2 separate regions of the Homo sapiens genome follow, and region 1 is linked to region 2. Evidence: promoter capture Hi-C in human tissues and cell types (Jung and others, 2019). All regions are on one chromosome and are shown on one strand. Each heading gives the region's core, a stretch centred on a gene start or on the middle of the fragment in contact. The rest is flanking DNA. Distances are from core to core; before and after follow the strand shown. Region 1 overlaps NUSAP1 (nucleolar and spindle associated protein 1). Region 2 holds the start of ZFYVE19 (zinc finger FYVE-type containing 19).

Region 1 (3,605 bases), core at 377-2,876, 530 kb after region 2:
TTTTGAGACAGACTTTCGCTCTTGTCACCCAGGCTGGAGTGCAGTGGTGCGATTCCGGCTCACTGCAACCTCCACCTCCCAGGTTCAAGTGATTCTCCCGCCTCAGCCTCCTGAGTAGCTCAGACTACAGGTGCCCACCACCACGCCCAGCTATTTTTTGCAGACATGGGGTTTCACCCTGTTGGCCAGGCTGGTCTTGAACTCCTAACTTTGGGTGATCTTCCTGCCTCGGCCTCCCAAAGTGCTAGGATTACAGGCATTAGTCACTGTACCTGGCTGAAATTCATAATTTTTGCTGTGGCCTTTACCTCTCTACTTGACCCAGCCTCTGGTCACATCTCTGATCTCCCTGCCCTCCATATACCTCAGTGTTCACCATACTTCTACCATAAGGGCAGTTTCTGTCTTTCAACTCATGAGTCCACCTCAGGGCTCCTGTTCTTGGCGCTCGCTCTGCTCGGAGTGCTCTTCACCTGCTGCCTCTTTCCTCATTCACATCTCGGGAGGCCTTTCCCAGCCATCCTAATTCAGGTAGCATCCCCACCCCACCCCAGTTGCCCAGTTTTATTTTTGCATCATAATACCTGACGTCATATCATTCATTTCTAGCTTTCTTGGGTAACTGTTTCACCTCTGCTAGAAGATCCTGGAGGGCAATCACCTTGTCTGTTTAATTAATCACTCTCTAGTGTCTGGAACAGTGCCCAGCACAATAAATGCTTGTTGAAGGAATGCATGAATATATGCTGATAACTAACATCTGCACCTTCAGCACAACTCTTGAACACCACCTCATATCATTCAACCTCCTCACTGGGTTCTGCCACAGGTGCCTCACTTCATGCATTTTTGTATGTTTGGTGAGATTTTGAAGGTATATTAAGAGAGTATTAGAAAAATCAAGAATGCCTGAATTCTGCCCTGCCAATCATCCCCTTCCCAGAGAAAACCTCAAGGGTGGTTCAAGGAACAAGTAGAAAATAAGGTACCACTTTATTACTAGCTGAAATAGTGCCTGATATCTTGATGCAGAGCATTCTGGTAAAGTGGATTGGAGACTGTGGCTTAGGCTTGCACCACAAGCAAAAGCTTGAGCACAAACCAAATTTCAGGATCTCTGCTATTCTCTACTGGACACATGGCCCATGATAAAAGGCATGAGAAGAATAGAGCCAAGCCTGGTGGCTGGGCCCACCTTGAGAAGGATGGCTGTGGCCCTCAACTGCATGGCTGGGTGGAAGAGGAAGAAAAAAAGAACCCAACCAAAAAACTTGACTTTTGTTTTTTAAACGGAGTCTTGCTCTATCGCCCAGACTAGAGTGCAGTGGCATCATCTCCTCGGCTCACTGCAACCTTCGCCTCCTGGGTTCAAGCAATTCTTCTGCCTCAGCCTCCCAAGTAGCTGGGACTACAGGCACACACCACCATGCCCGGCTAATTTTTGTTTTTTTATTAGAGACGGGGTTTCACCATGTTGGCCAGGCTGGTCTAAAACCCCTGACCTCGTGATCCACCTGCCTCGGCCTCCCAAAGTGCTGGAATTACAGGCATGAGCCACCCCGCTCAACCAAACTTGACTTTTAAAGCACAGGAAAATGTAACCAATCAAATTAACATTGTTCTTTCAGGAAAGAACAAGAAGGGAGGTTTTCCTAGGCTGGGAAGAGAAGCTCAGTGTTCCCTTCCCCCGGCAGAGACCTACAACCATCCCCCTAAGACCCCGTCACCTTTTGCATTCCTCATCTTAGGGACCGTACCACACTTCACCAGCTGTCCAAGCCAGAAACGTTGGCATAACAAAGTTTCCCTCTTCCTCAACTCTCATGTTCACACTGATTTCACTTCCTAAGAAGGTTTTGACTTCATCCATACTGCCTTAGCCCCGCTCCAGTTCAGGCCACAGCATTTCTGGCTCATCCCCATCAAATGCATCTTGCACATTGTGCAGGTAGACTACTCATTCTGAGTAATGCAAAATTGGTCACCCACTGCCTTGCTGCAAACTCTTCAGAGACTGCCCTTTTCTCTGAGAGTAAAGTTCATACTCTTTAAAGGCTTACAAGGCCTGGTAACATCACGGCCCTGCTCACTTTCCCAACATTGTCTCTTACTATCTCCTACAAACAGGTCCATGTTCCAGCCACACTGAACTTAAGTTCTTCAAACTCCACCCTCATTGTTGCCTTGCTGTGCCATTCCTCTACCTCTTTCTCTACCTTCTCTTCATCCTTCAGATCTCAGCAATTAGAGACATCACATCTTTATCTGAGAACTGCCCTGTGCAGATACTTGCTGAAGTCTAACCTAGCAGTCCCAACTTTGATGGCCATGCCTACCTATGTTCTCATGACAGCCTGAGCCTCCTAGCGTGGGCATTTACCCCACTGTATTGCAATTGCCTCTTTCCTTGTCTAACTTTCCCACTCAGATGTGAAATTCCTTAGAGCAGAGACCCATTCTTTCTAAGTAATGGTTCTAGTCCTATGGTCTGACCAGAGTACATTTAATGAATACAAGAACAGCAAAAAATATTCAACGTATCTTCCTTGTTTATTTGACTTTTGGCTCTAATAATAAGGTCTCTCTTGCAGGCAACCAAGTTGTTAAAAGCCTTGAAAGGCTACATTAAACATGAGGCAAGAAAAGGAAATGAGAATCAGGTGAGTAATGTTTTTCATGTTTACCTGTTAGCTAGCAAAATAATCATATTTGGTTAATGGGCAATTAACACACAACTAGTGATGATTTAAGACATGCTGTTGGCCAGGTGTTGTGGCTCACGCCTATACTCCTAGCACTTTGGTAGGCAGTGGCAGGCGGATCACTTGAGTCCAGGAGTTCGAGACCAGCCTGGCCAACATGGTGAAACCCCGTCTCTACTAAAAATACAAAAATTAGCCAGATGTGGTGGCGGGAGCCTGTAATCCCAGCTACTCAGGAGGCTGAGACAGGGAGAATTGCTTGAACCCGGGAGGTGGAGGTTGCAGTGAGCCAGGATCGCGCCACTGTACTCCAGCCTGGGTGACAGAGCAAGACTCCGTTCAAAAAACAAAAAAAAAGATATGCTGTTTATTAAAAAAGAGATCATTATTGGTAATAGTGCCAAGGACTGAATCCTTTCAGATTAACTATCTGCTGTTGTGAATGGTGAAACTGTTTTGCGCCAAGTAATCTGTTGAATAACATGTTTTTACACAGATACAAAGGCTGAGTACTAGTTGCCAAGTACTACGAGAGATGGCATGATTTAAGTAGAGAGGGAACTGGATTTGAAATCAGAAACACCTTGGTCAAGTACCAGCTCTCATTTATTTCTCTGCAACATTAGAAAACTCAAACTCCTCTTCTTTAAAATGGAAATAATATCTGTTCTGCTGAACTGAGTGTTGTGAGCATCACATGAAGTAGGGATTGTGAAAGTGACTTGTAAGCTATAAAACACTGCTGATGGCTGATGGGAGTTGTCATGGCCGCTTCAGACCCACAGCAAAGATTTTTGATAAGGCATGACTCCTAAACGGATGAATGAGTGCCCCATTAGAGCCAAGATTCTTTTATTCTTTTTGTTGTTGTAGTTGTTGAGACAGAATCTTGCTGTCATCCAG
Region 2 (4,102 bases), core at 1,136-3,635:
AGAAACTCTAGATTTCAGCCGGGCGCGGTGGCTCACGCCTGTAATCCCAGCACTTTGGGAGGCCAAGGCCGGCAGATCACTTGAGGTCAGGAGTTCAAGACCAGCCTGACCAACATGGTGAAACCCTGTCTCTGATAAAAACACAAAAATTAGCTGGGTGTGGTGGCACATGCCTGTAATCCCAGCTGCTCAGGAGGCTGAGGCAGGAGAATTCCCTGAACCTGGGGGGCAGAGGTTGCAGTGAGCCAAGGTTGCACCACTGCACTCCAGCCTAGGCAAGAGAGTGAGACTCCGTCTCAAAAAAAAACCCTCCAGATTTCCCACTTGGATCTTTTGTGAAATGTCTCAAATAGTTTCTCACTATTAATAAAGTACTAATTAAATAATTTGCAGGCAGGGCATAGTGGCTCACACCTGTAATCCCAGCACTTTGGGAGGCCGAGGTGGGAAGATCACGAGGTCAGGAATCCAAGACTGGCCTGGCCAACACGGTGAGACCCCGTCTCTACTAAAAATACAAAAATTAGCTGGGCGTGGTGGCGGGTGCCTGTAATCCCAGCTACTTGGGAGGCTGAGGCAGGAGAATCACTTGAAACAGGAAGGCGGAGGTTGCAGTGAGCCGAGATCATGCCACTGCACTCCAGCCTGGGCCAAAGAGTGATACTCTGTCTCAAAAAAAAAAAAAAAAAAAAAATTAGCCGGGCGTGGTGGTACATGCCTGTAGTCCCAGCTACTCCGGAGGCTGAGGCAGGAGAATCGCTTGAACCTGGGAGGCAGAAGTTGCAGTAAGCTGAGATTGCGCCACTGCACTCCAGCCTGGGCGACAGAGCGAGACTCCGTCTCAAAAAATAATAATAGGCCGGGCACGGTGGCTCACGCTTGTAATCCCAGCACTTTGGGAGGCTGAGGTGGGCAGATCACGAGGTCAGGAGATCGAGACCACGGTGAAACCCCGTCTCTACTAAAAATAAAAATTATTAGCCGGGCATGGTGGCAGGCGCCTGTAGTCCCAGCTACTTGGAGAGGCTCAGGCAGGAGAATGGCGTGAACCCGAGAGGCGGAGGTTGCAGTAAGCCGAGATCGCGCCACTGCACTCCAGCCTGGGCCACAGAGCGAGACTCCGTCTCAAAAACAATAATAAAAAATAATAATAATAAAGAATTTAAAAAATAATAATTTGTAAACATAGAGCACTTAGAATACTATCCAGAAAAAAAAAATACTGTCTAGGACATAGTAAGCATTATACAGATGTTAGGAATTATTAATCCTAAAATATTGAAACACGAGAGAGGTGGAGCAGATGCTTTTGATGCTTCATAGACATCCCATGGCCATTTCTGATTTCAGCTGCGGCTGCAGGGGACAGATTTGTGCAGGTTGACAGCATTTCTCAAGGGCCCTCTGGGTCTCTCTGATTTTCTGCCCCAGAGCTTCCTCTTCTCAAAAGCTCACTCACCCCATGAGCAGGGCAGCCCAGAAGTACTGGGACATTAGTGGGCACTATTTTTTTTTCCTTTTTTTTTTTTTTTTTTGAGACAGTCTCGCTCTGTCGCCCAGACTGGAGTGCAGTGGTGCAATCTCAGCTCACTGCAACCTCCGCCTCCCGGGTTCCAGTGATTCTCCTGCCTCAGCCTCCCAAGTAGCTGGGACTACAGGTGTGTGCCACCACGCCCGGCTAATTTTTGTATTTTTAGTAGAGAAGGGGTTTCAGCATATTGGTCAGGCTGGTCTCGAACTTCTGACCACATGATCCGCCCGCCTCGGCCTCCCAAAGTGCTGAGATTACAGGCGTGAGCCACCGCGCCCGGCCTAGTAGACACTAATTTTCTTTCTTTCTTTCTTTTTTTGAGAAAGAGTCTTGCTCTGTCGCCCAGGATGGAGTGCAGTGGCGCGATCTCGGCTCAGTTGGGCACTAATTTTCATTTGATGAACGCCTCTCCTTCGTATATTGTTAAAACTACCACCATGATCCAGGGGGAGATAAAAGAAATCCTAAATCCAGCTTGATCAGTGTTTCACTCCCTGGCATCTTTATCACCACCTAAGGTAGCATGGACCTCTATACCATCTGCCTTAACCTTCTGATCCTCCTGCTTTTAGCCCACTAACTAGCACATGCTGAGAAGGGCATCAGCTACTTGAAAAGAGTCAATGGGCTTGAGTGGAAAAGAAAATAGAGACAGCAGGGTCATCGGTCACATTGGCAAGGGGGCATGAAAAGGGAGTGGAGAGGCTTTGAGATCTTACTTTTCTTTCGTTCTAGGCTCTTAGTGGAAGAATTAAATCAGCCTGCAGAAGAGACTGAAATGAGGCACCTCTTGTCACAGTCAAGGCAGAAGCGGAAACGGAGGCCGAGACTGCGCAGGCGCAGAGGAGGCTAGCGTTCCTTGCTGCCTCGCCCCGCGGCCTCTAGGAGACAGGGGCCACGGGGAGAGCACAGCCACCCGGCGCGAAGAGCCCTCTGTACCCCGCTTCCTCTTGAGGCCCTCGGACCGTCCAGGAAATGTCTGGGAGCCCGCCTGCGGAGGGCATAGCGCCGACCCTCGCTCCCCGCCCAGGACCCGAATGAACCTGGAGAGCGGATGCCAGCAGTGGCCGAGGCGCTAGGACAGGAAGGACCGCCAGACCTCTCAAGATCAGCCTTCCTCGCCACCGTTCTCACCTCTTTGTCCGCTGCCTTCTCCTCAATGCCTAGCAGCGCGTACAGGTCCATCTGTAAGAGCTCCTTGGTCACTGCCATGGTTCCGGCCTGACGGATTCGTACTACAACTCCCAAGAGTCTAAGCGCGCGTGAGGACTGCAGGCTCCGAGCGGCGCCTAGCCCTCTGGGAATTGTGTTCTGGGTCAGGCTTGACTGACTCTGAGGGAGGCCGGCAGTCGTGAATGAACTACGACTCCCAGCAGCCCCCGTTGCCGCCGCTGCCGTACGCTGGCTGCAGGAGAGCGTCCGGATTCCCTGCTCTAGGTCGCGGCGGGACAGTGCCAGTGGGCGTGTGGGGCGGGGCAGGGCAGGGAAGGGAAGGGCGGAGCTGGGGTGAGGGTCCAAGGGGCCCAGGACTTGGCCGGCGTGATCTCAGCTCTGCAGACCCTGCGGTGCTGGGAGCCACCATGGAGAGTAGGTGCTACGGCTGCGCTGTCAAGTTCACCCTCTTCAAGAAGGAGGCGAGTCTTCCCTCCCCGAGGGCTGCAGGGCCAGGGAGGAGAGGAGGGAAAAGCGCGGGACTTAACGTCCAAAGACTTGGTCTTACGGCTCCTTTCCAGCTGTGTGGTTTTGATGAAGTCATTGATCCTCAGTTTCCATTTCTGTAAAATGGGGCTAACATTCTCTCGCTTTCAGGGTTTATGTGAGGGTCCACTGAAGTGCTTTAGGTGAGAGTTCCCTATAAACTGTAAAGCGCGCTGCCGTCGTTTTTGCAAAGCTACTCTTTTCTGTCGGCCCAGTGTAGCATCTGGCGGTTTTCTTCTCTCCACCCTGCTCCTCCGAAGCGCGGTGTCCATCACACCAAGCCCGTTACTCCCTCTGCTCTGAAATCTTCCCCATCCCGCAGCCTGCCCTTCTCCAGGTCGCTGGAGTTAGATTACCACACTTCCTCCTGCTTCCGGGGCACCATGGTGAAGGCTGACTGTCCTGTCCCTATCACAGACCTGCCAGATTCCTCTGGTAAACTGCAGGTTCCCTCTGCCTCAGTTGTGGCCAGGGATTCTGACCAGGAGATGATGGGAACTAGATGGAGTAAATTAGTGTCACGCAGGAAGGCAGGACCGTGCAGCATTCACCAACCTGGATTTTGGAGTCAGCGTTCAAATCTGAGCTCTGCTGTCTTATTGAGGCGGTGACCTTGGTTTGGATAAGTTATGTAACCTCTCTGGCCCTCTCAAAATAAGGATAATCACGGTTGGCATCAAGATTAAGTAAAATAATGTGTGTAAATTGTAAGGAATAAATCACATGATGAATGTTAAGTACTGGGTTTAGTGCCTGGCACATAGTAAGTGCTTAATAAATGGAGGCTATTGTTAGCCCATCCTGAGCCAAGCCTCCCTCCATCTCTGCAAGAGCAGAGGAGGCATCGGCTCTGCCCTGTCTCTCTGATTCTCC

The links. The method cuts DNA at HindIII sites, captures the fragments that hold promoters and counts their contacts. A contact is called where the count stands out against the background at its distance.
Region 1: a contact is called between a fragment that was not itself captured here and the fragment with the promoter of ZFYVE19 in region 2, in 1 of the 25 tissues and cell types used here (IMR-90 fibroblasts).

What each region holds. Positions count from the first base shown.
Region 1 is chr15:41,339,795-41,343,399 of GRCh38, forward strand. It overlaps NUSAP1 (nucleolar and spindle associated protein 1), which reads left to right. Exons shown (of 11, transcript NM_016359.5): 2 at 2,592-2,660. Among named protein-coding and RNA genes, the nearest start is that of NUSAP1, 8.7 kb to the left of the region's middle. The HindIII fragment of the contact is 4,302 bases long and covers 1-3,605 here.
Region 2 is chr15:40,804,704-40,808,805 of GRCh38, forward strand. It overlaps ZFYVE19 (zinc finger FYVE-type containing 19), which reads left to right and starts at 2,386. Exons shown (of 11, transcript NM_001077268.2): 1 at 2,386-3,165. The coding sequence starts at 2,887. It overlaps DNAJC17 (DnaJ heat shock protein family (Hsp40) member C17), which reads right to left and starts at 2,770. Exons shown (of 11, transcript NM_018163.3): 1 at 2,666-2,770. The coding sequence starts at 2,743. RefSeq lists enhancers at 2,049-2,138, 2,599-2,648, 2,689-2,738, 3,369-3,418. The HindIII fragment of the contact is 16,570 bases long and covers 1-4,102 here.